Linked DNA regions of Homo sapiens: all the other regions are linked to region 1. Evidence: promoter capture Hi-C in human tissues and cell types (Jung and others, 2019). All regions are on one chromosome and are shown on one strand. The core of a region is centred on a gene start or on the middle of the fragment in contact, and the rest is flanking DNA. Distances in the headings are between cores, read along the strand shown.

Evidence for each region. The method cuts DNA at HindIII sites, captures the fragments that hold promoters and counts their contacts. A contact is called where the count stands out against the background at its distance.
Region 2: a fragment that was not itself captured here is called in contact with the fragment with the promoter of GJD2 in region 1 in 4 of the 25 tissues and cell types used here (IMR-90 fibroblasts, heart left ventricle, mesendoderm cells and 1 more).
Region 3: a fragment that was not itself captured here is called in contact with the fragment with the promoter of GJD2 in region 1 in 2 of the 25 tissues and cell types used here (IMR-90 fibroblasts and aorta).
Region 4: a fragment that was not itself captured here is called in contact with the fragment with the promoter of GJD2 in region 1 in 4 of the 25 tissues and cell types used here (IMR-90 fibroblasts, mesenchymal stem cells, mesendoderm cells and 1 more).
Region 5: a contact is called between a fragment that was not itself captured here and the fragment with the promoter of GJD2 in region 1, in 4 of the 25 tissues and cell types used here (H1 embryonic stem cells, dorsolateral prefrontal cortex, mesenchymal stem cells and 1 more).
Region 6: a fragment that was not itself captured here is called in contact with the fragment with the promoter of GJD2 in region 1 in 6 of the 25 tissues and cell types used here (IMR-90 fibroblasts, adrenal gland, bladder and 3 more).

Annotation. Positions count from the first base shown.
Region 1 is chr15:34,752,877-34,758,100 of GRCh38, reverse strand. It overlaps GJD2 (gap junction protein delta 2), which reads left to right and starts at 3,103. Exons shown (of 2, transcript NM_020660.3): 1 at 3,103-3,683; 2 at 4,729-5,224. The coding sequence starts at 3,613. It overlaps GJD2-DT (GJD2 divergent transcript), which reads right to left and starts at 3,017. Exons shown (of 3, transcript NR_120329.1): 1 at 2,880-3,017. The HindIII fragment of the contact is 7,022 bases long and covers 1,137-5,224 here.
Region 2 is chr15:34,941,052-34,946,275 of GRCh38, reverse strand. It overlaps AQR (aquarius intron-binding spliceosomal factor), which reads left to right. Exons shown (of 35, transcript NM_014691.3): 6 at 1,848-1,988; 7 at 4,196-4,264. It also overlaps the pseudogene RPL36AP8. Among named protein-coding and RNA genes, the nearest start is that of AQR, 26 kb to the left of the region's middle. The HindIII fragment of the contact is 3,772 bases long and covers 1,088-4,859 here.
Region 3 is chr15:34,919,879-34,925,102 of GRCh38, reverse strand. AQR (aquarius intron-binding spliceosomal factor) reads left to right here. Exons shown (of 35, transcript NM_014691.3): 14 at 4,669-4,771. Among named protein-coding and RNA genes, the nearest start is that of AQR, 47 kb to the left of the region's middle. The HindIII fragment of the contact is 7,298 bases long and covers 1-5,224 here.
Region 4 is chr15:34,903,398-34,908,621 of GRCh38, reverse strand. It overlaps AQR (aquarius intron-binding spliceosomal factor), which reads left to right. Exons shown (of 35, transcript NM_014691.3): 18 at 1,910-2,077; 19 at 4,117-4,286. Among named protein-coding and RNA genes, the nearest start is that of AQR, 64 kb to the left of the region's middle. The HindIII fragment of the contact is 3,174 bases long and covers 1,277-4,450 here.
Region 5 is chr15:34,617,590-34,622,813 of GRCh38, reverse strand. No RefSeq gene overlaps it. Among named protein-coding and RNA genes, the nearest start is that of LINC02252, 36 kb to the left of the region's middle. The HindIII fragment of the contact is 5,582 bases long and covers 112-5,224 here.
Region 6 is chr15:34,883,295-34,888,518 of GRCh38, reverse strand. It overlaps AQR (aquarius intron-binding spliceosomal factor), which reads left to right. Exons shown (of 35, transcript NM_014691.3): 25 at 1,858-1,993; 26 at 3,785-3,994. Among named protein-coding and RNA genes, the nearest start is that of AQR, 84 kb to the left of the region's middle. The HindIII fragment of the contact is 4,312 bases long and covers 478-4,789 here.

The DNA of each region.
Region 1 (5,224 bases), core at 1,854-4,353:
ATGAGGTTTCATTTACAAAACATTTGAAGCTGCAAGGCTGAAAGGTTCACCTGGGAGTCTGTGGTTGAGAAGAGAATGAAATTTTGAGCACATATAAGGATAAGAACAAATTCAGACACCCCTATGTAGTAAATGGAATCATTGTTAGTAGCTCTACATTCTCTCCTGTATTATAACATTCAACAACACCCTTTGCTCCATGCCTTTGCAGTTTTTCCCACTAGATGTGGATAATATTTCCCTGCTCTGTTAATGGAAAATACTATTTGGTAAGACATAGATTTGCAGATCAACAATCTAGGTATTTTTTTCCTCTAAATGTCTGGAGGTGAGCATGTTCCCACTTTAATTCCCCTTTTCTTCTTCAAATATCACATTTTTTTCATACTTTTAAATAATTTTGATCTTCTCTAGGATTCTGAATACCACATTCTTCATAGCTTTTCCTTTGCTACCCATATGATTTTAGGCAAGCTAGCTAAGCTTTGGGTCAGTTTTAACACTATGAAACAAATGGATGATAGATTTCCTCATCCCTAGGATTCACTCCTGCCCTAATAGTCATGGAACTAAAAGTTCTCAGGTTTTTATTGTTATTGGAGCTGTGGATGAGAACCCGTTAATAACACAGCTACCTCAATCTTGTTTCCATAGATTTCAATTTAGCAGAATTGGGATGGGATCGCAGCATCTGTCTTTTTAATGAAGATCCCCAGACAGTCTGTTGTGCAGCAAAGGTTATTCTATGAGCATTCTACGAATTTCATTGTTTCTCATCCAAAACTATTATTTTAATAAACAGAATGGCTTTTAAATAAGATGTAATGGAAAGAACTTCCCAGCTGCCTTAAACGGGGGTTTTCAATCAGAGGAGAGTTGAGATAATCAGAATCTATCAAGAAGATACAATGCCCTGAGGAAACTGAGAGATGCCCGGATCCACAGAGAACCATTTCACATTTAATGCACATTTGTTTATCGGAACAAATTATTAATTGAAAATGGAGTTGACTGGACTTGAAGGAGGAAGTACAATGTAGTAAGTGTGAAATTTATGAGTGGTTATTAAAAATAAAAATGGTTATTTCTGAAGTGTGGTGGTGAGACTAAGATTTTTATTTAAAAGTAGCCTACACAGTCCAACTGATGAGTTTTAAAATATAGGTTCTATATATATGCGTCTTTGTGCACTTATACACCTATGTTGTTTGCACATGTTTATATGTGGAATCTATATGGCATATTAAAGTATATTTCAAAATAATACACAAATGATCAACAATTCAGTCATAGCGTAGTGTCTGATAATTGCATTTCCTGCAGTCTATGTTCTTAGGATCATAATCTTTAACGGTTTGGGAAAGCCAACACATAAAATGACAATTTTGAGTTGTGCAGCCTATTTTGGGACATTTAAAGATGTTAAACAGATTTCCCTTTGGACTTACTCATTCACTTCTTGGCTAAGATCATTTACTATAAGAGAGTCTGCCAGACAAGGAGGGAATACAGGGACCTAGGGCCAAGGGGAGTAGAAGGGAAACCTGGGAAAACACACCAAGTTTGGGTTAGGGGATCACCATTCCATCTGGAAGCTAACTGGATAATAGGGTATCCATTCGTCCTCACCCTTGAACCTCCTCCGTGTTCAGAAGGAAACTAATAAATCACTTTATCCCTCTCTCCATTGTTAGTGGACTCTTTTACTCCTTTGCAGTGAAAGGCTGCTTTCTTGGGGTAAAGATGTCAACCCTAGCAGAGGATTTCAGTGATCTTTCTGGCGGCGAAGCTTAGACCGTGTGTTTAAACATCATTTTATGAAGAAGTACACTGTGAGTGGACTGAGGGCCATGCCCTGCACCTTTCTTCCCAGTCCCTGGGCCACCAACTACCCAACCACCTCGGTTGTTCCAGAAGTGAAGGCTCACCATGGTGTGGCTTATGTAATATACATATGTGCTATGATCCCTGTGGATAATTAAGGCTAGGTCCCTTTATATGCCTAGGACAAGTTAGCAACCCTTTCAAGGTCGTGTTTTCGAAAGGATGACAATTACTTTCCCATTGGACTTTTGGTACATTTACATCAAACACTGCCAGCTACAGTGTCTCCTAATACTGACCCCTGGGCTAATTAGCAGCTTAGTGAGGTTGTTTCAATTTTTCAGCAACCAATTAAGTAGTTGCTCTAGACAGAACTGACAACACAATGTGAATTTTAAAAACCGGGATCTGCTGGTTGAGGGGAGAAAGCCAAACCCAGTAAGGCAAGTGGGGGCAGGGCGAGGCTGTGAGTGGCTCTGTTTCTGCTAGCAGAATACTGGGTCTTAAATTCAGATTAAATCACAGTTTACCTGACGAGTACCCCGCCCCCCCTTCCCATTAGTAAAATAATAGCAATAATTTAAAAAGAGCCGAGCATCTGGGTTAGTGCAAGGGGAAGCGAGACCTTTAACCATGGCCACCCCACTTGCTCTTTGCGAGGCACCTGTTAGATGCGCTCGTGTGCCCTGACCCCTATACCGAGAGACAGCTCCACACCTGCATTTACCCTTCAGCCTAAATGGATTCCCATCAAGCCTTTCTCACTTCACTGTCGGATCCACAGAGGCACCGAACCGCAGCCACTCTGCAGAAGCACTCTCAGCCACTCTGTCCCCTAAGGGAGATTTAAAAGTGGTCGCCCCCACTCGCCCTCCCTCAGCCAGCATCTCCATCTAGGGAAGGAATTTCAGTTGTCTCCAGGAGGCAAAAAGCGAAAAGGTGAGGGATGCACCGAGAGAAGAGAAGATACCTACTCACTCCCCTCCCCACTCACCCACGCGTCCGCTCCCGGCTCCCCCTCCGCCTGCTTGGGTCTGGCGGTCAGGTGAGGTTACCTGGGCTCCCCGAGAAGCCCCGAGGGGCGCTGCAGTCCTTCCTTTCGAAATCGCCCCGCTCCCCGCCGGGCCTCCAGGACTCTTGCCCCTCTCCCCCCGCGCGCGTCCCCGGCCCCTCGGGCTCCGACGCGCAGCGACAGCCGCACGGCGCGCTCTGCTCCCCTCCGCCGACCTGGCGTGACGCAGGCGGAGACTACTTAAGGGCGGATTAGAGGCGGCGGCCGCGGATCCCCGAGCCCAGCATTCGGCTCCGCGCGCTCGGCCCTGGCCTCGCAGGCTGCCGCGCCGGAGCGCCAGGTGCCCGCTGAAGTAGCAGGAACAGAGCCGGTGTTCGGACCCTCCCCTGGCCCCCAACCTGCGGCGGAGAGCGGCGCTGAGACTTCTCCTGGGCGGGCGAGCGCTGGAGGACCTGCAGGCTGCCACCCCGCCCCGCCCCTCGTCCCGGCGTCCGCGGGATCCAGACCCGAACCCCGGACGGCGCCCGAGGTTCGTGCCCTCTCTCTAGACCGCGCCAACTGCCCCATCGGTCGGGACGCGCTTGGATTTCTTTCCCCATTTCTTCTCTTTTAAGTACAATAAAAGGAAAGGGGGATTCGAGGATTTTTTAAAAAATTGCTTCTTTAATTGGGAGGCAATTCACTCCCATTCTGGAAGTGCGGCCCGGGGAGGGGCCAGGAGCGGGAACGTGCCCGGTGCTGCCCAGTCTTTGTCTGCTGCCTCCGGATGCACAGCGATGGGGGAATGGACCATCTTGGAGAGGCTGCTAGAAGCCGCGGTGCAGCAGCACTCCACTATGATCGGGAGGTAAGGGCGCCAAGCCGGCGGTCAGGGGGCCCCGTCGGGCGGCCCCCGGGAGTCCCTTCTCACACCTGGACTGAGTCTCCCGCTCCAATCCCCAGTCCGTCCTCTGCCTCCTCCCCATCGTCCTAGGTCAAGGCTCCGGTGTTCCCGGCGATGAGGGATTACCCGACGCCCCGCGATGCCCCCCTCCTCTAGCTACTCCTAACCAGCTGCCCATCCCTTCCCCATCAAGCACCACTGGGGCTTCACTCTTCCCACATCAGAAAAGGAGCCGCTGGCTCAGTCTTGGTCCCTCCACTCTCCAGAGTCAGAGCCAATCTCCATTTGGTTCCCTAAATAGAATCTACAAAGAAGGCAGGATTGCATTTGGACAGAAAAGGGCAAATGGGGAGATGGATTTGCTCTTCAGAGCAGATGCCTCTTTTCTCAACAAATAATTACTAAACCAAACTTATTTGGCGGTGTAAACTTACCGAGCCTACACACCCAATTGCCATTTTTGGGTCTGTATCTATATCTATGTCTCTATCTACCTAGCTTTATATATATATGAGTTCAATATATATGAATATATATTCATAGCCATCTGCTTATATAAAGCATTAAATTTAATATTCATGTTGAGAATAAACTAAATATACACATGGAGTAGTTATTTACACACCCTGTGTGTAGACCTCGAAGCATGCACCATCTGTAAAGGTATTCTGTGTGCATTTGCCATATCCAGAGTGAAGGTGTGTTTTGTGTTTCTATACATTCTATATAGAGAGATGAAATCTATCTGTTGCAAGTAGACTATGTCCAGTGTATGGAGATGTGTGTACCTGGGATCTCTATAATATGAAATATTCCCAGCCTACCAGCACTCAGCAGAAAAGGAAGAGACAAAAAGCTTTCCCAGATTCCTAGTTCAGTACCAGCCCGGGATGGACAGCTCCCCAGTCAAAAGACTGGTAAACACCAGCAAAGGGAAGGGAGGAGCAGGGGTTTCCTGTCAGTGACGCAGCCCGTGAGAACCTCTCTCCCTCCCTCTTCCTCCGTTCAGGATCCTGTTGACTGTGGTGGTGATCTTCCGGATCCTCATTGTGGCCATTGTGGGGGAGACGGTGTACGATGATGAGCAGACCATGTTTGTGTGCAACACCCTGCAGCCCGGCTGTAACCAGGCCTGCTATGACCGCGCCTTCCCCATCTCCCACATACGTTACTGGGTCTTCCAGATCATAATGGTGTGTACCCCCAGTCTTTGCTTCATCACCTACTCTGTGCACCAGTCCGCCAAGCAGCGAGAACGCCGCTACTCTACAGTCTTCCTAGCCCTGGACAGAGACCCCCCTGAGTCCATAGGAGGTCCTGGAGGAACTGGGGGTGGGGGCAGTGGTGGGGGCAAACGAGAAGATAAGAAGTTGCAAAATGCTATTGTGAATGGGGTGCTGCAGAACACAGAGAACACCAGTAAGGAGACAGAGCCAGATTGTTTAGAGGTTAAGGAGCTGACTCCACACCCATCAGGTCTACGCACTGCATCAAAATCCAAGCTC
Region 2 (5,224 bases), core at 1,724-4,223, 190 kb before region 1:
TTTGAGACTGAATTTAGCTCTTGTTATCCAGGCTGGAGTGCAAATGGCGTGATCTCAGCTCACTGCAACATCTGCCTCCCAGGTTCCAGCAATTCTCCTGCCTCTGCCTCCCAAGAAGCTGGGATTACAGGTGCCCGCCACCATGCCCAGCTAATTGTTGTATTTTTAGTAGAGATGGGGTTTCACCATATTGGCCAGGCTGGTCTCAAACTCCTGACCTTAGATGATCCACCCGCCTCGGCCTCCCAAAGTGCTGGGATTACAGGCATGAGTCACTGTGCCTGGCCTGTTCTTTTTGTCCTTGATTTGGGATCTATTTTTCCTTTTAGAAATTTCTAATGCACTGATGTTTCCTTTTTGTGCTGGTGCAACAGAAGCTTGATCAGTAGGGATCCAAAATCTTTGTTTTCTTTGCCCGCCATATAATGGTCACTTCATCAAGAGTTTCTTCTCTTCCAGTCAGACTTTTTTAAATGAAAAAAAGGAATGGATGCCTGTCATCTGTTTTGAGTAAATGGTCACCAAAGTGAAAAGGTGATAGAGTCTTTAAGATAAAACCATGGACACTTATCTCAAATATTCATTAAATGACTACCATCTCAGGGCACATTAGAGCTCAGAATAAACTATGGGTTTTATGTCACTATCAAGAGAGCCTAGGGGTTTCTTCAAGTTGCTTCAAGCTATTATAGAAATACAGAAAGGAAGAAGGAAAATTTTTTGAGCCAGGGAATAACCTGGTCAGTTTACCTGTTATAAAGATCACTTTGGTGATTAGGCCTTGAAATAGAGAAATGATAATACAGATTTAGAGGATATACAGAGATGTAGAAGGTAGAATTGATTGAATTTGATAATCAGTTGAAGTAGCATTAGGAAAGGGTGTTATTTTCAATAACCTTCCAGGCTTGGGCAAATGAATATAATATATGATGGTGCCATTTACCAAGATAGGTAATAGAGAGTGAGGAATAATTTGGAGGATACAAAACTGTTGAATTGAATTTGGACATATTCAGTTTAAATTGCCTTTGGAATATCTAGATTAAGTCATCTAGTAGAGGAATCTAAGGTTTGAGAGCTCAGAAGAGAAATCTGGACTGCAGATGTATATTTGGAATCATTGGTATTTAGTGGTTGAAGTAATAGAGGGAGAAGAATGAGGCTAGAACCCTACGAATATTGCGGTTTAGATAACAGGCAAAAGAAGAAGAGCCTTCAATATGGTGAAAAGGAGTTGAGAGTTAATAAGGGTCCATAGGACTTGACAGCCATACAGCTTCAGGAGAGCTTGTCTTAGAGAAGTGAATGAAAACAACTAGTATAGACCACACGCTTGGAGCATTTGTCTGTGGCAGTAACTAGAAACAGAGGTAGGTCAAAGAGGCTTGAATATATTTACATTATTTACAAGTTAAGAGTAAAGAGCTAATATAAAGCAGGAGGGGCTGTTCTTGAGATTAATTACAGTGTGAAAACTACAATTTTTGCTAAAGATGTAGTTTCTTTTGTTTAAATCAGAGAAATTAAAACACTTCAGATCCTTAATAAGAAAACAAAGCCTAAGCTAAATACAGGCATAATCCACAGAGGAAAAACTAAAGAAATGAAAGCCATTATTTTATTAGCTAAAGGGTTCTGCAGCTCTCTCATAGTCCTGTCAGAAACCTGTATTTGACTTGCCATTAATTATAAGTAAGCACGTGATGCTTCTTTTATACATATACAAATAACCCTTTTGTAATTATTTGGTTTTTTTAATAGACTGCTAAAAAGCCTACTAGGGCTTCTTTAAAGCTTAAGTGAGCAAGCCAATACAAAATGAATTTTATTCTGTTTCTTTTCAGATTTTTAAGAAGAAGCCAGACCACTTCCCATTCTTTTTTAAACACATCTTGAAGGCGGCATTAGCTGAAACTGATGGTGAATTTTCACTTCATGAACAGACAGTCTTACTACTTTTTCTTGATCATTGCTTCAATAGTTTGGTACTTTTACTTTATATTTTGGGGTAATTTTCAAGTTTTCTTGTTCTTTTAGGTTGAGTTTAGATGAAATTACCTCTGTAGCCAACTCCATTCATCCATAATAGCAGGCAATAAGGATAATGCTAAAAGCTTGATTTCAGCCACTTATCAGTAAAACCATTTTATAAGTCTTTAAGATATGTTTTTATAAGATATGTTCACTTTTTAATAGATTTGAAATTGATACTTAATTTTTTCTATCTAGACTCTTAAGAAAAATGATTATAAGAACTGAAACTCTAAAGGGAGAGCACAAAAATGAGAAGCAGCAAGGAGACTGGTTATATGGAATTGGAGTAATGAGATCTGTGCCACAAACTGCATATACATACAGGAATGTAGTTTCATTGCTTTTCATCATGCCTTATGCATAGGCTGGTTAGTCAACAGGAGAGTTGTATTTTGAGTTGACTGATAAAGGCCAAGTGTAAATGATCTTTGAAAATGTCTTGTGTGTGATACATTTTCATCCTTCATAAGATTATCTTCTAAAAAATTAAATATTTTCAGTAATATTTTATTTGAGCTTTCCTGTGTGGTTAGCTGATAAATACACATATTTATTTAGTGCCTCTGAATTGATAATTCACTTACACCCATGCAGGAGGAATGCATGGAGTTCTTTCTTATTCTGAAGACTGAGTGTTAATAGATGGATGATTATTACCTGTTTCCATGTACTATCTCACATGGATCTTTTAAAGGCATAAAAAAAGATTTATGATGCCTGCACTGGATACCACTGTTATCTCTTTAACATTTATTTTTATTTATTTATTTATTTATTTATTTATTTATTTATTTTGAACATAAACTCAAGATTTTATTGTCTTCATAATAAAAGATGACACTTAGAACTGAATCACTTGGCCCTTTCTCTTCTTATCTCCTCCCAGTTCAAAATGCTTGCATCTTTTAATAGCCAGCATTCTCTTAGATCTGCAGTTGGGCTCAATGCACTCAAGCCTTAGCACAATCTTTGTAGTTTTAGCCTTTTTCCAGAAAATTGGCTTAGTTTGCCCACCATAGCCACTCTGCTTCCTGTCATAACGCCGCTTTCCCTGGGCATACAGAGAATCCTTGCCCTTCTTGTACTGTGTCACTTTATGGGGTTGGTGCTTGCCACACTTCTTACAGAAAGTCCGGCGGGTTTTAGGGACGTTAACCATGCTTGCGTGAGCGTTATCGGCACAGAAAGCCTCTTTAACATTTATTAAACTAAACAGAACAAATAGAAATATAAATAGATGTGATTTTTTTATCAGAAACTAAACAGAAACAAGATTTTATTAGTATTAGTAATTTGGTGATAGTTTTAGCCAACTTACCAAACTAGTTTATTATTGAAATGCTTTATCTTTTAAAATATGCAGTCAGTTCTTATTTGAGGTAGTTATGTTCATTTTATAAAGTAGCTATGAACATTGAATGAGCTAATGCTGAACCATTACTCCTTGGGGAAATACAGGGTTAGGTTCCTGCAAGCCTTGGTCATGACATTTTACAAACTATCAATACATAGCCTTATTTTATGTGTGTTTCTATTTAAAGACAGCTTATTTATTGTATATTATTGATTCATTAACCATGAACTCACTGCCAACAGCACTGTAATTATGCCTGAACGAAGCTTATCTAACATACGTATTTACTCTGTAAGACATATCACAGCCTTCTTGCACCCATGAACATCAGACAGCACTTCAGCCTTGGGCTTGTTGCCATTTTAAACAGCGAAATCATCAAAAAGCACAAGCGTGCCAAAAAAAATAGTACTCAATAGACCACAAAAAGGATACTTGTTTCTTACAGTATGAGAGCTGAGAATGAAGCAGAGCATCAGCTCAGTCTCACCTGAGAATGTGCACGTCGGACAACTCAGATTTTTGTTTGGGCCATCTGGATGACTGTGAAAGCACATGGAGTGTTGATTTTGGGGTTACAAATACATTTTTATTAGTATATGAATTTGCAAGTACAAAATCTGTAGATAATAAGGATGGAGTCTTTTTTAAAGCATTGAACTTCTTAATATCAAAATATTAACTTGAAAATATTTGTGGCATGTTTTCCCTCCAGGACTTAAAAAGGCAGTATACTTCTTATGTAAAGACTTAGGTAGAAATGCTGGTATGTTTATAAACTTATTTTCTTCATGCCCTAAACAGGAAGTAGACTTGATACGAAGTCAAGTACAGCAGCTTATCTCCCTCCCAATGTGGATGGGCTTACAGCTGGTAAGTCTCTAATTTCAGAGTCTTATGAATGTATGTGTTATAAGTAGAACGTGTGGTTTTAGTCTATAGCCTTAATCTGGATATACAAGTGGTAGCTAAATACCCCTTTTCTTAGAAAAGCCACTTTGCTTAACTTTTCATAGATATAGTTTTTATTTTAAAGTTTTTATATGCATTCGATGTTTAACTTAATTTTAGTAATATAAAATGAATAAGGTAGTATCTATTGAGCTTATAGAGAAAGGGGGTTAATTTAGCAAAGTATAGATGAGACTAAATGTGGACTTGAATTTTTTTTTCCTTGATTAGAGTATATATATAGCTGTAGGAGAAGATCTGGATCATACCTAATATTAATGACTTCCATTTTTCCATAAAGTCTTTATTGGGTAATATGTGCAGGTACCAAAGCCAAATTAATACATCTTAGGTAGTTTAGTTAAAACTATCAGATTTCATTGTAATGCTTTATTCAGAATTTCCCTTCCTGCACATGGGTGTTTCTGCATATACTCAGATATGCAGACTCATTTATAAGCACCAGTTGATGGGGATGAAAACATAAGGCACGTATAAATAATTAATACTAAGTTAAAAAGTGGCAAGTGCTATAAGAGAGAATATGCTGATGTGGACATTTCCTTATTTACTTGTGATCGCTGTTTTTTGTGCATTGTTTCAGACTCATATTTTTCAAACCTTAGTGATTATGCTAAGTGTTGATGCATATATTTTTCAGACTTAGCTCTTTAAGTTTTGAAATAAAAAATTAATTGATTATTGAGCTTACAATCTTGATTTGTATTTTTATTAACAAGAGCTAGAGTTGAATAATTTTTTAAAATATCGTTATTCATTTCTTAATTTTCAGGGTTTGTCATGTTATTTTCAGGTTTTATCAGATTGCTCTATTTTGTACTCATATATTAGAAAACTAGCAAATAGTTGATCTAATCCTTA
Region 3 (5,224 bases), core at 776-3,275, 170 kb before region 1:
TTCAGTTTAACTTTGTTTGTAACATCTTTTGTCATTACAGATATTTTAAATTTTTTAATGACAACTGTCATTCTTTTTAATAACTATATTAGATGCTTTATGTAGAAGTCCTTCTCACCCTAAGGTTATAAAATGTTTTCCTATATTTTAAAAATACTTTTATTGCCTTTTTTTTTTTTTTTTACATTTAGCTTAGCTGCATAGTTCATCTGGGGTATTTATTTTTGTCCATAGACATCCTTTACACTCTTAAAAATTATTGAGGATCCCAAAGAACATTTATGTGTATTATATTCATTATATTCACTATAGTAGAAATAAAAACTGGAAAGATTTTAAACATTTATTAATTCATTTAAAAATATCAATTGAGGCCGGGTGTGGTAGCTCACGCCTATAACCCCAGCACTTTGGGAGGCTGAGGTGGGCGGATCACCTGAGGTCAGGAGTTCGAGACCAGCCTGGCGAACATGGTGAAACCCCATCTTACTAAAAATACAAAAATTAGCCACGTGTGGTGGTGCACGCCTGTAATCCCAGCTACTTGGGAGGCTGGGGCAAGAGAATGGCTTGAACTTGGGAGGTGGAGGTTGCAGTGAGCCAAGATCGTGCCACTGCACTCCAGCCTGGGCAACAGAGTGAGACTCTGTCTCAAAAAAAAAAAAAAGTATATTGATTGAAATCTATTATATGTTAGCCATATGTATTGCTAATGAAAAACATATTCTCCAAAATGAAAAAAATGCACCATTAAAAGAGTGTCATTGTTTTACATTTTTGTGACTGATTTAATTGAAGACAGATTTGCAGATCTCCTTCTGGATTCAGTTTGTTGTGAGATATTGTTTTGGTTGAAGTAAATTAAGAAAATTTGGCCTTACACAGAGGGAAGTGTATTTTGATAAGCTTTATCAAATAATTGGGAATGTTCTTCTTTAATACTCTATGAAAACTTGACAAGTGGTAGTTTCTTTAAAAATTAGTTTCAGAGTAGAATCTGAAACCATGTAAGGAAGTCTGTACAATTAAAATGAATTAATCTGAAAAATTAGAAGCTAGGTCTTGCTTATGGATAAGAGGACCCAAGGTGTGAATCCTTCCCAAATTAATCTATAGATATATTTTAATTCCAATCATAATTCTAGCAGGATATTTTATAGAAATTGACAAACTTATTTTAAAAATAACATGGAAAGGCAAAGGAACTATAATAACCCAAACCATTTTGTAACAGAACAAAGTTGGAAGATTTCTACTAATTTCAAAACTTGCAGTAAAGCTATAGTAATCAAGACATTATGGTATTGATACATGGATAGATGTATAGATCAATGGAATAGATTAGAGTCCAGAAATAGACCATACCTATATGGTTAGTTGAGTTTTGACTAATGTGTCAAGGCAACTCAGTAGAGAAAGGATTTCATCAATGGTGCTGAAACAATTAGATATCTATATGCAAAGTATGAACATTGACCCATACCTTGCATCATATACATAAATTAACTCAAATCGGATTATAGACCTAAATGTCAAAATTAAAACTTCTAGGAAGTATGGGAGAAAATTTTTGTGATCGTGGGTTTGTGCAAAGATTTCTATAGACACCAAAGCACAATCCATAATGGAAAAAAAAATGATGAATTGGACTTGATCAAAACTAAGAGACTTCTGCTCTTTGAAAGACATTGATAAGAGAATTAAAAAACACGCTACAGCCTAGGAGAAAATATTGGCTAAATGGGTATTTGATGAAGGAATAGAATCCAGAAATCTCAGAACTCAATACAGCAGCCCCCTACTTTCCGCAGGGGATGTGTTCCAGAACCCCAGTGGATGCCTGAAACTGTAGATTGTACTGAACCCTATATATACTGTGTTTTTACATGTAATGTAAAAACCTATGATAAAGCTATGAAGTAGGCACAGTAAGAGATTAACAACAATAATAATAAGAGAACAGTTATAACAATATACTATAATAAAAGTTATGCGAATGTGGTCTCTCTCTCAAGATATCTTATTCTACTATACTTAACTATTTCCAGACTCTGGTCAACCATGAGTAACTGATATTAGGGAAAGTGAAACCACAGATAAGGGGGGACTCCTATAATAATAAAACAATTTACAGGTGACAAAAGATTTGAACAGACACTTGACCAAAGTAGGTAGATAGATGTCAATAAGCCCATGGAAAGATGCTTAACATGTTTAGTCATTGGGGAAATGCAAATTTAAACCATAAGAAGATACTACATACCTATTAGAATTTGTTTTTTTTTTAATGGATAAGGCCAGGCACAATGGTTCACGTCTGTGATTCCAGCACTTTGGGAGGCTGAGGTGGAAGGATGACTTGTCTACTAAAAATCAAAACAATTAGCCAGGCGTGGTGGCACATGCTTGTAATCCCAGCTACTCAGGAGGCTGAGATAGGAGGATTGCTTGAGCCCAGGAGATCGAGGCCGCAGTGAGCTATATCTTGCCACTGTACTTCAGCCTGGATGACAGAGTAAGACCCTGTCTCAACAAAACCAAAAAAACAAAAAACAACCCCAAAACGGATAATATTGACTCTTGGCAAGGATGTGGAGCAATTGGAATTCTCATAATTGCTGGTGGGAATTCAAAGTGGGATAGCCACTTTGGAAAAATTTGAGTTTCTTATAAAGGTAAACATGAACTTAACATTATGATCCAGTATTTTCCACTTACAGATATATTCAAGAAAAGTGAAAACTTATGTTCACACAAAAATATGTACAAAAATGAATATAGTTGCTTTATTCAAAATCGTCAAAAACTGGACTACACAAATATCCCACAACTGTTGAATGAATAAACATACTGTGATACAGCCGTATCATGAAATACTGCTCAGCAACGTAAAGGAACCAACTACAGATAAATATACAGTGTGGGTGAATCTCAAATGCTCAAATGCATTATGCTAAGTAAAAGCAGCCATTCAAAAGGCTACCTACCTAAGACCAGGCATGGTGGCTCACACCTGTAATCCCAGCACTTTGGGAGGCCAAGGCAGGCAGATCACTTGAGCTTAGGAGTTTGAGACCAGCCTGGGCAACATGGTGAAACCTCGTCTCTACCAAAAATACAAAAATTTAGCCGAGTGTGGTGGTGGGCACCTGTGGTTCCACCTATTCGGGAGGCTGAGGTGGGAGGATTGCTTAAGCCCGGGAGGTGGAGGTAACAGTGAGCTGAGATCATGCCACTGCACTCCAGTCTGGGCAACAGAGTGAGACTCGTCTCAAAAAACAAGCAAGAAAAAAGACTACCTAATGTGTGATTCCATTTATTTGACCTCCTGGAAAAGATAAAATTACAAATAGAAAACTGATTATGGTTGCTGGGCTGGGATGGAGAGGAGGATTTGCTATAAATTAGCATAAGGGATTTTGGGGAGGTGATGAAACCAGTTAAATAGTGGAAAGCTATGAAGCTCATGGTGGCAAATACCAGTTTTCCAAAATTCTAATTTTTCACGTTCACATGGAAGTTCAAATTTTATCATTGACAGCAAATACTGATAGTTGTTTTCCTTGAAATTATAGTCTTATTTCATTCAAAATTTGAAATTTGAAAAAAAATTGGCCATTTGTCCAAGGCTGGTATAAACAGTTTGTCATTTTTTTTTTTTTTTTTTTTGAGATGGAGTCTCGCTCTTTTGCCCAGGCTGGAGTGCAGTGGTGCAATCTCGGCTCACTGCAACCTCTGCCTCCTGGGTTTAAGCGATTCTCCTGCCTCAGCCTCCTGAGTAGCTGGGACTACAGGCGCTCACCACCACGCCTGGCTAATTTTCGTATTTTTAGTAGAGACGGGGTTTCACCATATTGTCCAGGCTGATCTCAAACTCCTGACCTTGTGATCCGCCCACCTCGGCCTCAAAGTACTGGGATTACAGGTGTGAGACACTGCACCCGGTCCAACAGTTTGTTGTTTTTTAAAGTAAAAGTTGTGTGCAAAATATGTACTTCCCATTTTGTCACAGAATTTAAAATAAAACAGGTACTCGAGTCCAAATTTAATAGTATTAATTTTTTTTTACTGCTTCATCAAGGACATTCTTAAATAAAACTGTGAAACAATGTCTTAGTATTGTTATTATTATTGTTATTATTTTTGAGACGGAGTCTCGCTTTGTCGCCCAGGCTGGAGTACAGTGGCGCGATCTCGGCTCACTGCAAGCTCCGCCTCCCGGGTTCACGCCATTTTCCTGCCTCAGCCTCCCGAGTAGCTGGGACTACAGGCGCCCGCCACCACGCCCGGCTAATTTTTTGTATTTTTAGTAGAGACGGAATTTCACCATGTTAGCCAGCATAGTCTCGATCTCCTGACCCCGGGATCTGCCTGCCTCGGCCTCCCAAAGTGCTGAGATTACAGGCCTGAGCCACCTTGCCCTGCCGGTATTAATATTTAAAAGTGTTCTTGGGGACTGCCCAGAAGGATCTTGGGTACAATGAGAGGTTTGCAGAAAATATTTTGAGAACCCTGCACTAAAGCCTTAATTTTCATTGCTGGTTTTTGATATTTGCTGCCCATGTCATAGTATTATATTTGCTTTTTTAAGCTATTTGTAAAAATACATGTTTCAAAAGTGAAGTGAAGTAAGTTACTATGAATAAAATATTGTTCTCTATTCTGCAGTTCAAACACACTCCACCAGGTGGCATCATACCTCTGCTTGTTGCCAACTCTTCCTAAAAATGAAGACACAACTTTTGATAAAGAATTTCTTCTAGAATTGCTGGTAAATATTAATGTTCTCTGAATTTTGCATGTGGTTTTCCTTGCCTTTTAAAGTCATTCTTAAAGATGTAGGTTCATATAGATTTTTTTGTGGGCCAAAGATTAGGCAGATAATTCCCATTTTGTTTTTGGAATTGTATTATCATTTGATTTTTTGTTTTCTCATCTTTCGAATTTCTTTACTCAAGTATTTTATCTCTTCGAACTACTTTCTGGATGAATCATTCTATTAGCAACTATTTATATGCAAATCACTTTCATTGTCTCTTTCAGTTCCTAAAAATTCCTGTGCTATTTTCTGACAATGTAAAACCTCTCATGAGTAAGGTTTTTGGAATTAATAATAACTCTTTGCAATAGAAAGAAATGAGGATTTTTTTCAGGAATTCTTCTTCTTTTTTTGTTTTTTTGTTTGTTTGTTTGTTTTGTTTTTTTGATACCGAGTCTCTCTCTG
Region 4 (5,224 bases), core at 1,614-4,113, 150 kb before region 1:
GGCAAGATAGGGCACAATAGGGTATTGTGGGATGAGTGATAATCTGGGGTATGATGGAGAGAAAAGTGTTTTATGGGAGGCCTGGGCCAAAAACCAGCCCCTATATTGATCACAGATAGGGTAGCCAAATAGAAAATGGAGTAAAAAGGAGAGATTCTGTAAACAATAATACATTTTTTTTTTTTTTAGACGGAGTCTCACTCTGTCGCCCAGTCTGGAGGGCAGTGGCACAATCTCGGCTCACTGCAACCTCCACCTCCTGGGTTCAAACAATTCTCTGCCTCAGCCTCCCGAGTAGCTGGGATTACAGGCACCCGCCACCACGCCCAGCTAATTTTTTGTATTTTTAGTAGAGACGGGGTTTCACCATCTTGGCCAGGCTGGTCTTGTGATCCACCTGCCTCAGCTTCCTAAAGTGCTGGGATTACAGGCGTGAGCCACCGTGCCCAGCTGAATATTGTTTTATAAAAGTAAATTTTAAAGATTATTAAACTAAATACCATAAAACATTCCTTTTGTCCCTTTGAAAAGGTGTGAACCTCAAGCCCTTATCTTCTTCAATATTCTCATTTAAAGTTAAGGAAACAGAATTCATGAAATGGAAATGCCAGATTTGCTCCAGAAAGCACAGCTAGGATAGGGTGGATACAAATGGTTGCAAGGAGAGAGACATATAGGATTTTAAAAAATGTGGATCTAAGATGTCCCAGAGTAAAGTGGTTTGTTTTAGGAAGGAACAAGAGGTCATCCCTCAGTGATGCCAAAAAGTAACTCCTATCTTGGGAGAGGATAAATGACTTCTCAGGACCACTTCTTTGGCTGTAAGACTTAGAAGTTTTAATGAGCTGTGCAGATCAGACATCACACAGGTAGTACAACTCAGAGAGTAGGATGATTCCCATTCATTCTCATTACTTCTCTTGCTGCTTTGCATAGAATTTATTGGGAAATAATTAAGTCAGTATTATGAATAGAGTTATTATTTCTACCTTTACCCATACTCTAACCAGTCCCCCAATTAAAACAAACCAAAATATTTTCAGTACTATTAGCCATATGCCCACATTGTTGATTTGATTTCATTGTGTTTGTTGTTAACAAGGTTGTGAGCAAGCAGACTGTTTACATTTACATTTATGTCATGTAATGGCTAACAAAAACATCAGAAATGGAATGAAGATTAAGTGGTGTAGCATTACATGCTGTGAGGTCTAATTTTATAATCCTTGTCTTCCAGTTTCTCTACTTTTAATAGAGCTGGGAAGCCATTTGAGTTCTTTATTGGGTCTAGTGACCAAGAAGCTGTGGACTCTGGCACAAGTCTCCTTTTTCTTGACATTCACTTATAAAAATGTTCACGATTTGCCAACTGAAACTGTATATATTCAGCCATCTTTCTCAAGATCATACCTGTAAACAATACTTTTTTGCCTTGATTAATTATTCTTGAGTTGACCTGTTTTAGTGAAATACAATTAGGCTGTCTTTGGAATGACACTGATAGATAGTTTAAACTGATATTAAAAACCTGCTAAATATGCTATAGATGGATTATATGCCAGCCATATTTTTGGTTACTTATTAAGATTGTTAAAAATAAGAATGATGACGAACATCCAATTTTGGAGCTGTAGCATGACTTGGAGGGCTTATTCAGTAATATATTCATGGCATGAATGTTTCTAATTTTAATATAAAGAAGTTTTCATTTCAATTAATGCTATGAAATATTGAGTATTAAAGATTATAGAAAAGCCCATAATTGTGTTACAATGCGATAATAATCATTGGTCACTCAACGGTATCTCTCTACCAAAGATAAGAGGTAGAGAGGCAAATAAGAATTTGCCTACAAAAGACTGAAAACAATGAAATTCTAATAAATGAAAATGTCTTTATATCTTACCAGGTCTTCGTAAGCATGATGTATGCTTTTTAATTACCGTACGTCCCACAAAACCTTATGGCACTAAGTTTGACCGGAGGAGACCTTTTATTGAGCAGGTTGGCCTGGTTTATGTCAGAGGCTGTGAAATTCAGGGCATGCTGGATGATAAAGGACGTGTCATTGAAGATGGTATGGTGACCTATATTTTTGAAAGAGTATGTGTATAGAATGATAAATTTCTTTGCCTTTTTCCCTTTTTGCTTCTTAGGTAATATTTTTTAGTTCTTTTACCTACTAAATTGACACAAAGGATTTTGTATCAAATATGTGTAGGGTACCTACCGTGCAGTTTTAGATATAGGTAACATGGTTTCTCACTGTGTCACACAGGCTGGAGTTCAGTGGCACAATCTCGGCTCACTGCAACCTCTGCCTCCTGGGTTCATGCGATTCTCCAGCCTCAGCCCTGCTAGTAGCTGGGACCATAGGCACGTGCGACCATGCCCGGTTAATTTTTGTAGAGATGGGGTTTCCCCATGTTGCCCAGGCTGGTCTCAAACTCCTGAGATCAAGCACTCCACTTGCCTCGGCCTCCCAAAGTGCTGGGATTACAGACATGAGCCGCCACCACACCCAGACAGTTTCAGAACTTCTATGTTAGATATTGGAAAGGACAGGATCTTTTTCTTTTTTTCCCCCCAAGACGGAGTTTTGCTCTGTCAACCAGGCTGGAGTGCAGTGGCGCGATCTTGGCCCACTGCAACCTCTGCCTCCCAAGTTCAAGCAATTCTGCCTCAGCCACCCCAGTAGCTGGGATTACAGGTGCCTGCCACCGCGCCTGGCTAATTTTTGTATTTTTAGTAGAGACAGAGTTTCACCATGTTGGCCAGGCTGGTCTCGAACTCTGGGACAGGATCTTTTGAAATCATCTTTATTCAAAGCTTTTTAAAATATGTAATACTTTACCATATTTTTTTTAAGAAACACTCTAAATATCTCTTACAGTTGTCCAAGCTTTTTTGTGTTCAATGATATATTTTTTCTTCTTAAATTTGACTATTTTAATTCATTGTAGTGGTGGTTCTTAATTGGGAACAATACTGTCCTGCGTTTGAAAATGCATAGTGATATTTAGGTTTTCAAATGACCGGGATAGAGGTGAGGAATGGCAGGCTCTTGGCATTAGGTAACTGTGAGCCAAGGATGCTAAACATCTGAACAGAAATAAAAGAAGGAATTATCCTGCATAAGATGCCAACTTTACCGCATTTAAAAACACTGCTTTACAAAATTAGTCAGTTATTTGATTTCTTATGTGTATCACTTATTATCCCTTTGAAATTCTTTCTTCTGTTGTCCTGACTTCCTTTATAATACTTATTATTAAATTACAACTGCATACATGTCTAGTGCTTATTTTACAATTTGGTTGTTGTACTTCTTTTGAAACTTTAGTCAGTTTATGCTATCTGTGGTTTAGAGATTATATCATTGCTAAACTGCTGATGATTAAGTTATTTATCTCTAGAATGAGAGGAAATAGGAGAAGGGAATGGAAAATGGATGGAATAAGCATAAGGCCACATAATGGAACCAAAGTTCGAGGTCTAAGACCCCCCCTTCCCCCCACCCCCCCCAAAAAAGAGGAGATATGTCAGAGAGGAAAGAAAAGGCTCTGGGCTTTCAACCATTAGTATCCTACATTTCTGTGTATGTGAAATTTCTTTTCATGCTGGTTATACTAGGTATGGAATGTGGAAGGATGAGAAAAGTGATGAACCTCTGTCAAATTAAGGAATTAATGAATAGAAAACTATGCCTTAAATTCTAAAATACATATATTTAATTAGAAAATATTTATTGAATACTTACTATATGTAAGGCAGTAGTGGGAGCTATGAGTGACAAAAGTAAAGATAAGTTCTTTGACTTCTAAGTACTCCTATTTTAGTTGAGTGTGTGTACAAATTATTGCAAGTCATGGTGTTGCATCGTAAACATTACATGACTGCTATGGAAGGAAATAGTAAGAATTTAGAGAAAGAAGAAAATACTTTCAGCATCTTAGAATTTGAAGTGGGTGAGTGGAGGGCATTCTACTTTGGGAAGAATGGTTGGAGTTAAGCCTGAACCATTTACTCACCATTTCTAGAAAAGAAATACTGTTAACTTATTTTGATATTTGAAAAATACATATTTTATTTAACAAACTTTTTCAAATTGTCCAGGACCTGAACCCAGACCCAATCTTAGAGGAGAATCAAGGACATTTAGAGTGTTTTTGGATCCAAACCAGTATCAACAAGATATGACCAATACTATACAAAATGGAGCAGAGGATGTGTATGAAACTTTTAATATAATAATGAGGAGAAAACCAAAGGAAAATAACTTTAAGGTAATTTGGGGGTATGTAACTAAAAGTACTATGTCATAATTTAAGTAACTTTTATGACATAAATACAGAGATATTTGGTTAGAGGAAGATTTGTTAAGAAAAAAATAATGACTGCTTTTATTTTTACTATAAGCAATCCTCTTAAACTTTTAACAAAATGATGAAATATAAAAATTTAAAGAAATTGATTTCTTAAATCTATTTTGTCTTTTGAGGAGTTTAAAAACTTAAAATATAGATGAATCCAAGTGTTATTCTAAAGGTCCACCTCCTTTTTTGCTTTTTGTATATTAGGTATTCAGTTAATGCCCTATTATGAAGTGAAGAAAACTTGCTTACTTGTTTACTGGGGCTTCTTTTTTGAATCAAAAGTAGGTATACTTCCAGGTCACTTTAAGAATACAGATATGGAATCTCAAGGCTCTGAATTACTATACGTTATAATATATTTTTACTCATTAGTAGGAAAGGGAGGTTTGGTGGCTCAAAGTTCTACTTTTAGAATAACTTTGTGGGGAGAAGAGTTTTAGTAAAGGATAGTTTTAAAAACCATTATTTGAAACTATATTATAAAACTTAAACATTGAACAGTTCTAGCATTTGATACATGTAGCTTTTGCAGAAAGAGTGCCTTTCTTTTCTCTTTCTCCCAAAGTGCAGTACTTCTTAGACATTCCTATCATTTTATTACTTTTATGTAACCCTGTTGTTGTGATTTTTTAAGAAAATCTTTTGAACAGCAGAACTTGTTCTTCATCTCTCCCTGTTGTTGAACACAAATGGAGATATCCTTAATTTCTCTTTATCTCATACTCTACCTCTAATCTATCAGTAAGTCTGATTAGCTCATCACCTCTGCTGATGCCATGTCCAGGACACCTTTATCTCTCATATCCCTGCCTCCTTTCTTGTCTATTCCTCCCCTTACACATGTCCAC
Region 5 (5,224 bases), core at 1,653-4,152, 140 kb after region 1:
AAGGCTGATGAAATATTTGTCCCAGTCTGATTTGGTGGAAGTGGATATAGCCCAGCAGTTGTGATATACAGGCCCCTGGACATTCTGGTAAACAAAAATAAACAAAGGAATTACAGTTCTTAGGAGGAAAAAATATGGTGCTTGTTTTCAAATCTCTTTGTACCAACGGCAACTTAGAATAAACAACATATACATGTCTTAGATCATATGTGGTAGGTAATGCTGTTCCCCAGATGCCAGTTTCCAGGACAAGAGTGCACTTTTATCCCAATAATTTATTCCAATAATCAGACTATTAAAACACCCTTTTAGGTGAAATTTTTCTTAATGTTTCATAAACTACAAAAATATATACGACAACAAAATATTAGTACCCTGGCCAGGATTAGAAACACAAAAATCCAATTACAGTTGTTGTTTTTTTTTTCAAGAAAAAAAAGGAAAGAAAAAATATGTGAACAGTTTACATAAACCAGGAAAAAGCTAATCATAAAGAAATAAAAAAAATGTATAAAAAGTTCTTTATCACACAAGGTATGTTAAAGGAATGGGGGATATTGCAGAATTTTATTTTGGGGTGGCTTAGGGCTGACATTGACCAGTCCACAGTCCTATTAGTTGTGGTCCTCTATGGTTTAATTAAACGCTTCCAGAAAATAAAAGTGAAGCCTTTCATCTTGACCCTTTTTCAACTTTTCTCCTCTAAGACACTTTAAAAAAAAAAAACCACAATTATTATAGAACCCATCAGTTTGTATTTGATCTCTATTTTTTTCCCAAAAATACATCTCGACTTCCCACGCATTATTTCCTAATTCCAAAAATGGGTATCATGGATTGTTAAGCATGCACTTAACACTAAACAGGTTGACTGTTCTGGGAAAGATCTCGCATACTTAATTACCATTTTATTTCATCCGGTACAAGAATGCCATCTACAGACATGACTGCGCATTTCCATGAGCTTCTCTGAAAGAACTGAAAATAAATGCTATAAGGAAGGATTCCAAAAAATGTAGCTATTATCCTGATTCTTTTGTAACATTTGTTCTTTTTTGGACTAAAATAAGTTTGAAGAACAATTCATTCCCATTATGTACCATGAAAATGTTCTGTGCAATCCATGCATTTATAATCCAAGAGAGTTCTAATCCCTGTCGAAAGACAGAACAATATGTTGAGAGCTGGCATTGCATTTTGGTGTTTTGGAGAAATCACAAAATAAAATGGACTAGGTATATGATATGGGCATTCCTACAAAGTGTTTAAAATGAAGCTAAAATTCAGAATTAACACCGATGAAATAATTTAAATTACTTCCTAAGTTGCAATAATAGACTTCCAGAACAAAAATTGTTTATACTGGAGAGATGGAAAAAGAAAAATACATGTTCTTAGTACAGACACTTGACATCTTTTTTCCTTTAACTCTCACGCCTTCTCACTTGTGAGGCAAGTTTTAACTGAGCCATACGCAGGTTAATTAATTTACCAAGTCCACACTGCTAAGAAGTGATAGGGTGAAGATTCAGACATGTGATCACTAACCTCAAGTCTAATCCACTTTCCATTGTACTAAAGCCATAAATCTCAAGGGAAATCCTTCACAGCTTTAAAAATGGGGAAGGGGATTTGATACTCTCACTGTTCTAGGGAAACTTGCAAAAAGTGTCTTCTATGTAGCTTTAAAATACACATTATTACACACCAACTGCTAAGCCCTGCTGCACCGGATGTTTTTCTTGCAAAGACATACTATAAATAAAAACTGTAATAAAATATGATCCAGGAAACAGCTGGATGCTGGGATAAAAACACATAAATGACTAAGTAGTAAATTACCTTTCACTTGATTTCAATGCTGGGTGAATTCATCCTTTCTTAAACTAGACAAAATAGGAAACAGCAATGAGTGACCCCAACTGAGTGCATCCTTTCCCTCCCTGAAAGCAAATCCATCACATTCTTCCTGTGATGCTTCCCTACGGAAGTACCATCTCCTTGAAAGAAAGAAGCAAAACCTAGAATTCTCCAATTGCCATTCTTTTATGCATTCACTCAACAATACTTTCCAGTGCCCACCTTGAGTATCACAGGTAGACAGTATACAATTTTGGAAAAAACAAACACAATACTTGCACATGAAGAGCTTACAGTAGCAGAACGGTGAGGGGTTGGGAGGCAGGGCAGTCAACATGCAAATAAATTACACACAGTAAATCATCATTAAATATTTATTAAATGAAGCCTGTCCTTGCTAACCTAGGCCTTACTGATCTCTCCCTCTCATCTTTCTGAGGATCAGAACACTTAAAATTTTGTAATATTATCTAGCTAGGTAAGCTTCCCAGGGAATGGAACAATATGTTATACTCCTTTGCTCTCCTAACATAACCAAATACAATATATCAGCAAGCACAGTGTTTCATGATGTTCCAGGGGAAGTAGAGGAAGTGGGAGGGAGGAGTGGCATGAGGGAAGGAAGAAGAAGTAGACAAACAAAGAAGGAAGTGGAGAAAGAGGTGGTTTCATTTGAATTACTTGCTTTTAGGAAAAATAAAATATGTCTAACTCATGAAAAAATGAATTTTATGTACGTGGAAACTAAACTGAAATGGTAGAAAAACACAGATCTAGACAGAAGCACTGTTTTAGTCTTAAGTGAGAAACTGAGTCTCATTTATGGTGTGGAGGCACCGGAGGAGCCGGAGCTGAGCCTGGTGGTGTCATTGACAGCAGCTGGAGGGAGGATACATCACATCATGCTCACTAAGGAATCATAATGTCCAGATTTTCATTTCTTTGAGTCAGATGATTTATGTGCCTGTGGAGCAGCACACTACCACACCATCGATATCATTATTTTGTGGATACAATGCTATAAAAATACAAATGTTAGAAGAATTCAAGGAAAGAGAGGAAAATAGAGGAGTAAACAGTATAAATTGCTTTGCCTCACTTATCCACCAAGAGCAATGCGTGCTCTGGTTGGCTGTGGTCTCTGACTTTACTTTGTCTTCCAGGCTGGAGTGCAGTGGTGCAATCATGGCTCACTACAGTCTCGACCTCCTGGGTTCAGGACTCCTGAGTAGCTGGGACTACAGGTGTGCACCACCAGGACTGGCTAATTTTTCATATTTTTGTTGTAGAGATGGAGTTTCACTGCATTGCCCAGGCTAGTTTCAAATTCCTGGCTTCAAGTGATCCTCCCGCTTTGGCCTCCCAAAATGCTGGGATTAGAGGTGTGAGCCACCACATTCAGCTTCTTTCTTTAATGAAGGTAGTAGCCTTCCTAGTCATTCTATTGCAGGCTTATTGGTCTTGTAAAATTAGCATTGAAAACAATGGTTAATTTCCACATTCAGACTCATACAGTTCTTTAAACAATTGGAATGCAAGTTATGTCTATAATGTTCTTGAAATATTCCAAATGGCCCAGAGAAACTTGACCGCAGGTGTTTGCTACCCTCATATATAACAGCATTCAGTTAAAAAATTAAGTTGTGGCTGGGTGCGGTGGCTCATGCTGGTAATCCCAGCACTTCGGGAGGCTGAGGTGGGCGGATCACCTGAGGTCAGGAGTTCAAGACCAGCCTGGCTAACATGGTGAAACCCCATCTCTATAAAAAATATGAAAATTAGCCGGGCGTGGTGGCGGGTGCCTGTAATCCCAGCTACTCAGGAGGCTGAAACAGGAGAATCACTTGAACCCGGGAGGCGGAGGTATCAGTGAGCTGAGATTGCGCCATTGCACTCCAGCCTGGGTGACAAGAGTGAAACTCCATTTCAAAAAAAAAAAAAAAAGTTGCAGTAGAATACATATAATCAAAAGCTACTGAATTCCACTAAGAACTTGCAAATGAATTTTAATATCCTGCTTGTAAAACTACTGAATATTATGGTCTTAGGTTCCTTTTCCCCTTCTATGCTGTTGGAACTAAATATACAAAACCTGCAAATGGGAGCTAGCTAGCTAGATATGGATATGTATCTACGTATACAGAGAGAAACATCAACAGACATACATATAAATACAAATATATGTGATATAGTTTCAAGAGTACATGAAGTATCCCTGAAAGCTATATTAAAACTTTCAGTTAAGATAATCCAACATCAGTCTAAATATTATCTTATCAAAACCAGTGTACACATGAACAGGGTTTAACTTTTGTGAGAGAAAGTATTTTAAATGCTTAAATAGCTAAGCCTTTAAAAATGCTATGCTTATTTTCTTATTTATTTGGTTTTCTAAACTAATTAGGTTATTTCCAATGCAAAATTTCTTGCTTTTACAAAAACAGTAGATACTGGGAGAAATTTGAATCAGTTCAATGCCTGGCACCTTTTCTAAATATCCCCCATTATATCCAATACTTGGCAAAATTCATCCCTAACCCCAGCTTCTGACCTGAAAACCATGTGTGAGGATGCTTCTGATATTGATCATCCTGGCTTCTGCTCTGTCAAAGACCAACCCGGCCTTGGCACCAACCACCTTGTGAAAGAATACAGTTCTGTTCTGCAGATCCTCTTTAGTGAGGTCTGGAGGTTCTCAAACAAGAGTTTGAGACTTGGCAGCCCAATACATGGCTGCCTCTGTACTGCACCACAGCAGCCGAAATCTTAGCAGCTAGTCAAAAGCTAGTGAAAATGTCAAAGTTACAAAGCTCCTCTCAGGGCTCCAAAGAAGCAAGAGAGCTTTCAGCAGGATCATAACAGGTGCATCAAAGTAATGCCAAGGGGAGAAAAAGACTTCTTGGACCTAGCAACAAATAAAAATTATAAAAGTAAACATGCACACATAAACCCTGTTTTATATTTGTCAAAAAGGCCCCTTTCAATATTCAGCAAGTAACTGCAAGAGGATCAAAAGAGACCTGTATAAACTACAAGAGGTGACAAGTATAAGAATTGTTTCCAGCTTAAAGAAGATTGAAATGTCTCACTTTGGAATTTCAAGTCACAGAAATGTAGTACTTCTGTGACACTTTGGGTTTAAACTGCACAAAATGTATTTTTAACAGGCAAAATGTATGTGAGAGACAATGAATATAGACTTCATTTGGGCTCTGTGTTTCTTGACAGCATTCCAAAGATGTCAAGATATTTTTACCAATATACTCTTGCAAACTGGGTCAGAAGGTAGAAAAAGCGAGAGCTTTCTGAGTTTTCAAATGTTGTCTTCATTTCTGCTATTGAGGTTTATGTTACTACTACAGTC
Region 6 (5,224 bases), core at 1,384-3,883, 130 kb before region 1:
TTCACCATGTTGCCCAGGCTGGTCTTGAACTCCTGAGCTCAGGCAATCCATCTTGGCCTCCCAAAGTGCTAGGATTACAGGCGTGTGCCACCGCGCCCAGCCTTATGTTGCTTTTTAAAAATAATTCTTTATCTTTTAAGTGTAATAATGTACTAATTGAGCAGATAGTAGAGTTTAATTGTACTGTATATTGCTTTTATTTATTTATTTATTTATTTATTGGGACAGAGTCTCACTCTGTCACCCAGGCTGGAGTGTAGTGGTATGATCTCGGTTCACTGTAAACTCTGTCTCCTGGGTTCAAGGGATTCTCATGCCTCAGCCTCCTGAGTAGCTGGGATTACAGGCGCCCACCACCACACCTGGCTAATGTTTGTATTTTTAGTAGAGACGGGGTTTTGCCATGTTGGCCAGGCTAGTCTTGAACTCCTGACCTCAAGTGATCTGCCTGCCTCGGCCTCCCAAAGTGCTGGGATTACAGGCGTGAGCCACCGTGCCCGGCCTGTTGCTTTTTAAGTTTAACATTACTTCACAAAAATTTTGGCATTTTATTAACAGAGTCTGTAAGCATTCCTGATTTTTTTCTCATTAACGAAGTGTTCATTGTAGATAAAAGTTTATAGATAAGCAAGCAGAAAAAAGTTATCTGCCATATGTTTATATCCTTCCAAGTTGAAAAATTCTTCAAGCATAGATCATGTTTTAGATCTCTTTTTTGTTCTTAATCATCCCTTGCTACCTCAAATGTGAATCTCTGAACTACAGACAGCTAGGAACATGACTTCTTCTTTTGTTGAGTCTTTAAACATGGGAACAACAGTGATTGATTAAATTATTTTAGTCTTATTTTAAGCATTAAAGGGTTATGGGAGACCCTTTGTTGTTGTGGTGTTGTGAAAAGAATGTGCATAGAATTTGGGATCTAATTCTGGTTCCACTACTTTCTTCCCTAACTGTGTGTTTTCGGACAAGGTACTCTCCAAACTTCAGTTTTCTTACTGATTCAGCAAACATTAAGAACCTGCTAGGTTTGGGTGCCAAGTTATGTATTGGGATATGTAGATGACAGAGATAATCAAAAACATTTAAAAATTACTTTTCAAAGCCTTTAGATCTAATCTACTTTTATGTAGTGTAAAACAGTGCTGTTTGAAGCAGCCAGTTTGTGAACTTACATGTTCTTGGTCTGTGATGAAATGAACTAGCACCAGAATGCACTGTCCTGCTTTCTTCTTTGTGAAAGTGTCTTGCTGTGAAAAGAAAGATTGAGAGCTGAACTAAATGGTGTATTTGGTGATGTAGTTGACTTTCCCTCCTCCTAGACCAGTAACACCCTTGCAGATCAATACTGTTCCATGGAGTATACTCTAAGTAGCTTTTTCTTTTTTTTTTTTGAGACGGAGTCTTGCTTTGTCGCCCAGGCTGGAGTGCAGTGGCGCCATCTCTGCTCACTGCAAGCTCCGCCTCCCAGGTTCACGCCATTCTCTTGCCTCGGCCTCCCAAGTAGCTGGGACTACAGGTGCCCGCCACCATGCCCGGCTAATTTTTTTGTATTTTTAGTAGAGACAGGGTTTCACCATGTTAGCCATGATGGTCTCGATCTCCTAACCTCATGATCTGTCCGCCTCAGCCTCCCCGAAGTGTTGGGATTACAGGCGTGAACCACCGTGACCCACCTACTTTAAGTAGCTTTTGTGTAAAGTAACCCAAGAACTACCACCAATAGTTAAATAGAAGCCATATCTTCTAGTTTTTTTTCCTCTTCTTTGCTATTATGATTTTCTTGAATTTTGCTGATTGTTTCCTTCAAAGTCTCTTTATTACAGTTTTGTCATTTTGCCTAATTGAAATGTCTAGGTATGGAAGAGTTAATTATGTTCTGGCTCGAAGAATAGAACTTTTAGAAGAAGTCAAACGATTGCAAAAGAGTCTAGGGGTTCCAGGAGATGCCTCATATACCTGTGAAACTGCAGGCTATTTCTTCTTATACCAGGTAAGATATTAAGGGTTTTTGAATCATACTTCATCATAATATGAACCCCAGTTGGAAGCTGGAATGAGTTCTTGTGATCCTTCATGAAAGCTTATTTTTTTGAGTAGATTAGAATGTATGGTATTGCAAGTGCTATATTTATGAATGTTAAGTGTATTTTGTATTATCTTCAGTTTTCTTTTCTAAATAACTTTGCTTGATGACTCATTCTGTGAAAGACCAATGTTGCTACTTTTTACATTTTTTTCTTTCTATTGGCAAAGTTCTAGTCACTCTTTTTTCTTTTTTTACTGTAGAAATACAACTAAATAAATATTCTAGCTAGCCAGTGGCAACAAAGTACAGTTAACTTTTATTGTATACATTAATCAACTAATGAAGGAAAACATTCTTCCTTCAAATTTCCAGAAATAAATTATGTCTTACAACTAATTGCACAGTGGGTCTTGAAGTTAAAGGCTTCTGACTTCAACATAAAGATGTACTTTTACTTTTGTTAGGGTAAATTTTGGAAGTGTGAAAACCAATGAGAAATAGCCAAATAAAGTGAATAAAACTAAACTTTAATAGTCAGTTGGATTATTAATAATTTTAAATGGACTAGGACATAATTGGCTAATGAAGATTTTTGTATAACTTCATTTGTTCTCTTTGTTCTAATGCCAATTGTATATTTTAGATATAAATTATAATATTGTAAGCTCATTGTAAGTGGATATCACAAACCAATTAAGTCCATTCAAAATGAGCAGCTTTCATGGTTTCTTGTGAAGCAGGGAAAATACATAATATAGTCTACATTAGATTCAAGACTGTTTAGGACTTGCATAAAGGAGTAAAGATCAGCTTAAATGCTTTTTTGACACAAAATTACTTGGCTTTCAGTGAAAATAATGTTTAAAAGTGGGAAAAATAACCTATAAATTAAGAAGGTTTATGTAATAAATTTGGGAAGAATGAACTTGAGGCTTCACAGTGTAAATTGGCAGTTTTCAACATTTAAGAATCATATCAGGAAAGTTGTTTACGAGTTAAATTCCCTAGCCCTTGTTCCTATAGCTTCTCATTCAATAGAGGTGGAATCCAGGAATCCACATTTTTATTTAGCTCCTCAGATATTTTGCATAAGGACTACACTTTTGAGAAACACTGAGATAGTAACAGAAAAAGACCTGGGAGAGTTACAGAAATTGAGGTTACATAGTAACTGGCTGGTAGACGCATAGCTAACATTATACAAAGTAATTGAACTATAATCACAAAAGTCATAAGATAAGCTTTCAAATACACACTCAGCTTAACCAGACGTTCTTTATAAATGTTCTAAAAAACTGACAGAGGGTTGACAAGTGCCAAATTGATTAAAAAGCTGCTAAAGCTGAACTTACCATATATGGAGAGAAACAGAGATGAAAAAAATGAGCAATTTCTTTGTCCAGAGAGCTTTCTTTCCTTTACATTTCTTTTAAGCGTTAATAATAAACTCTCTTGAGTTACGTGGAGAATCTGAACTGTCGGAGTTAGAGTTCTATGAGATGATGTTAAGGCTCTTTCCAGTTTGTAGAAATTTGTTATTAAAGAGCCTTTTTTTCTCCAAAGACAAGGTTACTTTTATAACAGAAGAGCAATCTGTCAGTTACAGGAATGAAGAATAGTTATATTGGATCAAAGATTGAATTTCTTTTTTTTTCTTTTTCACCTAGCAGATCTTGTTTTTATAAGATTTATTCATTTTATGCTTTAAAACATCATAATTAGCTGGCAGTTAACTTCAAGTCCTTTTTTCTACAGGTAATGTCTCGCTGGGAAGAGTATATCAGCAAAGTGAAAAATAAAGGTAGTACATTGCCAGATGTTACGGAAGTCTCCACTTTCTTCCCTTTCCATGAATACTTTGCAAATGCTCCTCAACCCATTTTTAAAGGAAGATCTTATGAAGAAGACATGGAAATTGCTGAAGGATGTTTCAGGCATATTAAGAAAATCTTTACGCAGCTTGAGGTAAGGATTCTCAAGTTCTTTGAACTTCCCTTTAGTGGTTTTTAATTTAGTTTAGTTTTTTTTTGAAGTAAATGTGAAATATTCAAATCTTTTGTTTTTTTGTTTTTTTGTTTTTTTTTGAGACGGAGTCTTGCCCTGTTGCCCAGGCTGGAGTGCAGTGGCATGATCTTGGCTCACTGCAACCTCCACCTCCCAGGTTCAGGCGATTCTCCTGCCTCAGCTTCCGAGCAGCTGGGATTACAGGTGCACACCACCATGCCCAGCTAATTTTTGTATTTTTAGTAGAGACAGGGTTTCACCATGTTGGCCAGGCTGGTCTCGAACTCCTGACCTCAAGTTATCTGCTCGCCTCTGCCTCCCAAAGTGCTGAGATTACAGGTGTGAGCCACCACACCCGGCCCAAAATATTCAAATCTTAGAAATTAGATTAATTTTAAGTAAGATATAAATTGGATCCTTATTCTGGCTTTCCTGATGTAAAGGTCTTAGTATTTTTGAGAAAGGAATGCTTCCGTCAAGAAATTCAATAATGGTTCTTTGAACTGGAATTTGAGACTGCCATGTGGCCATTCTAAGTCCTGTATGCCTCTTGATCAGTAAAATAGTGGGGTTGCTGTAGTAGCCAGGATGATTGATTCTGATTATTAAAGTGAAATGAGTCATAGCTACACAATGGGAACAGAGAATATGTCTGGAACCCAGTGCCCCCTGGATATGTCTCCTAGTTTTTGCCACATCATTGCAGAATCATCATTGCAAAAATAGATAGCAAACATCATTGAAAAATTACAGCGGTCCTATAAAGGGATCATATTCAGGCTCAGACTCCTCAGTAAGAAAATTTAGGATTACACTTTCAGGTAGAAAGGTCAGGGACATTGTTTCTTGTCTTTGTATCTTTTAGATGTGATTACATACCTACTTCCTAGAACAGTATCAGATATGTAGTATATGTTCAGTAAATATTGAAATGTATATGGTTGAGTGGATGGATGGTAGGTACAGAATAATAAATGTATTATGTTTATGGTTACATAAACACAAAGTAAAAGGATAAAAACATACTCAATTCATAATAATAGCTGCCTTGGGAGGGAGTAGGCAGAAGGTTATACAGGGTACCTCACCTATATGTGTAATATTTTAATTATTTAAAAAACAAATGTTTTTTGTTTTTCCATACTCTTTTCTGCTCTGTTGGGGATCCTCTGCCATGGTTGATGTTCTGGC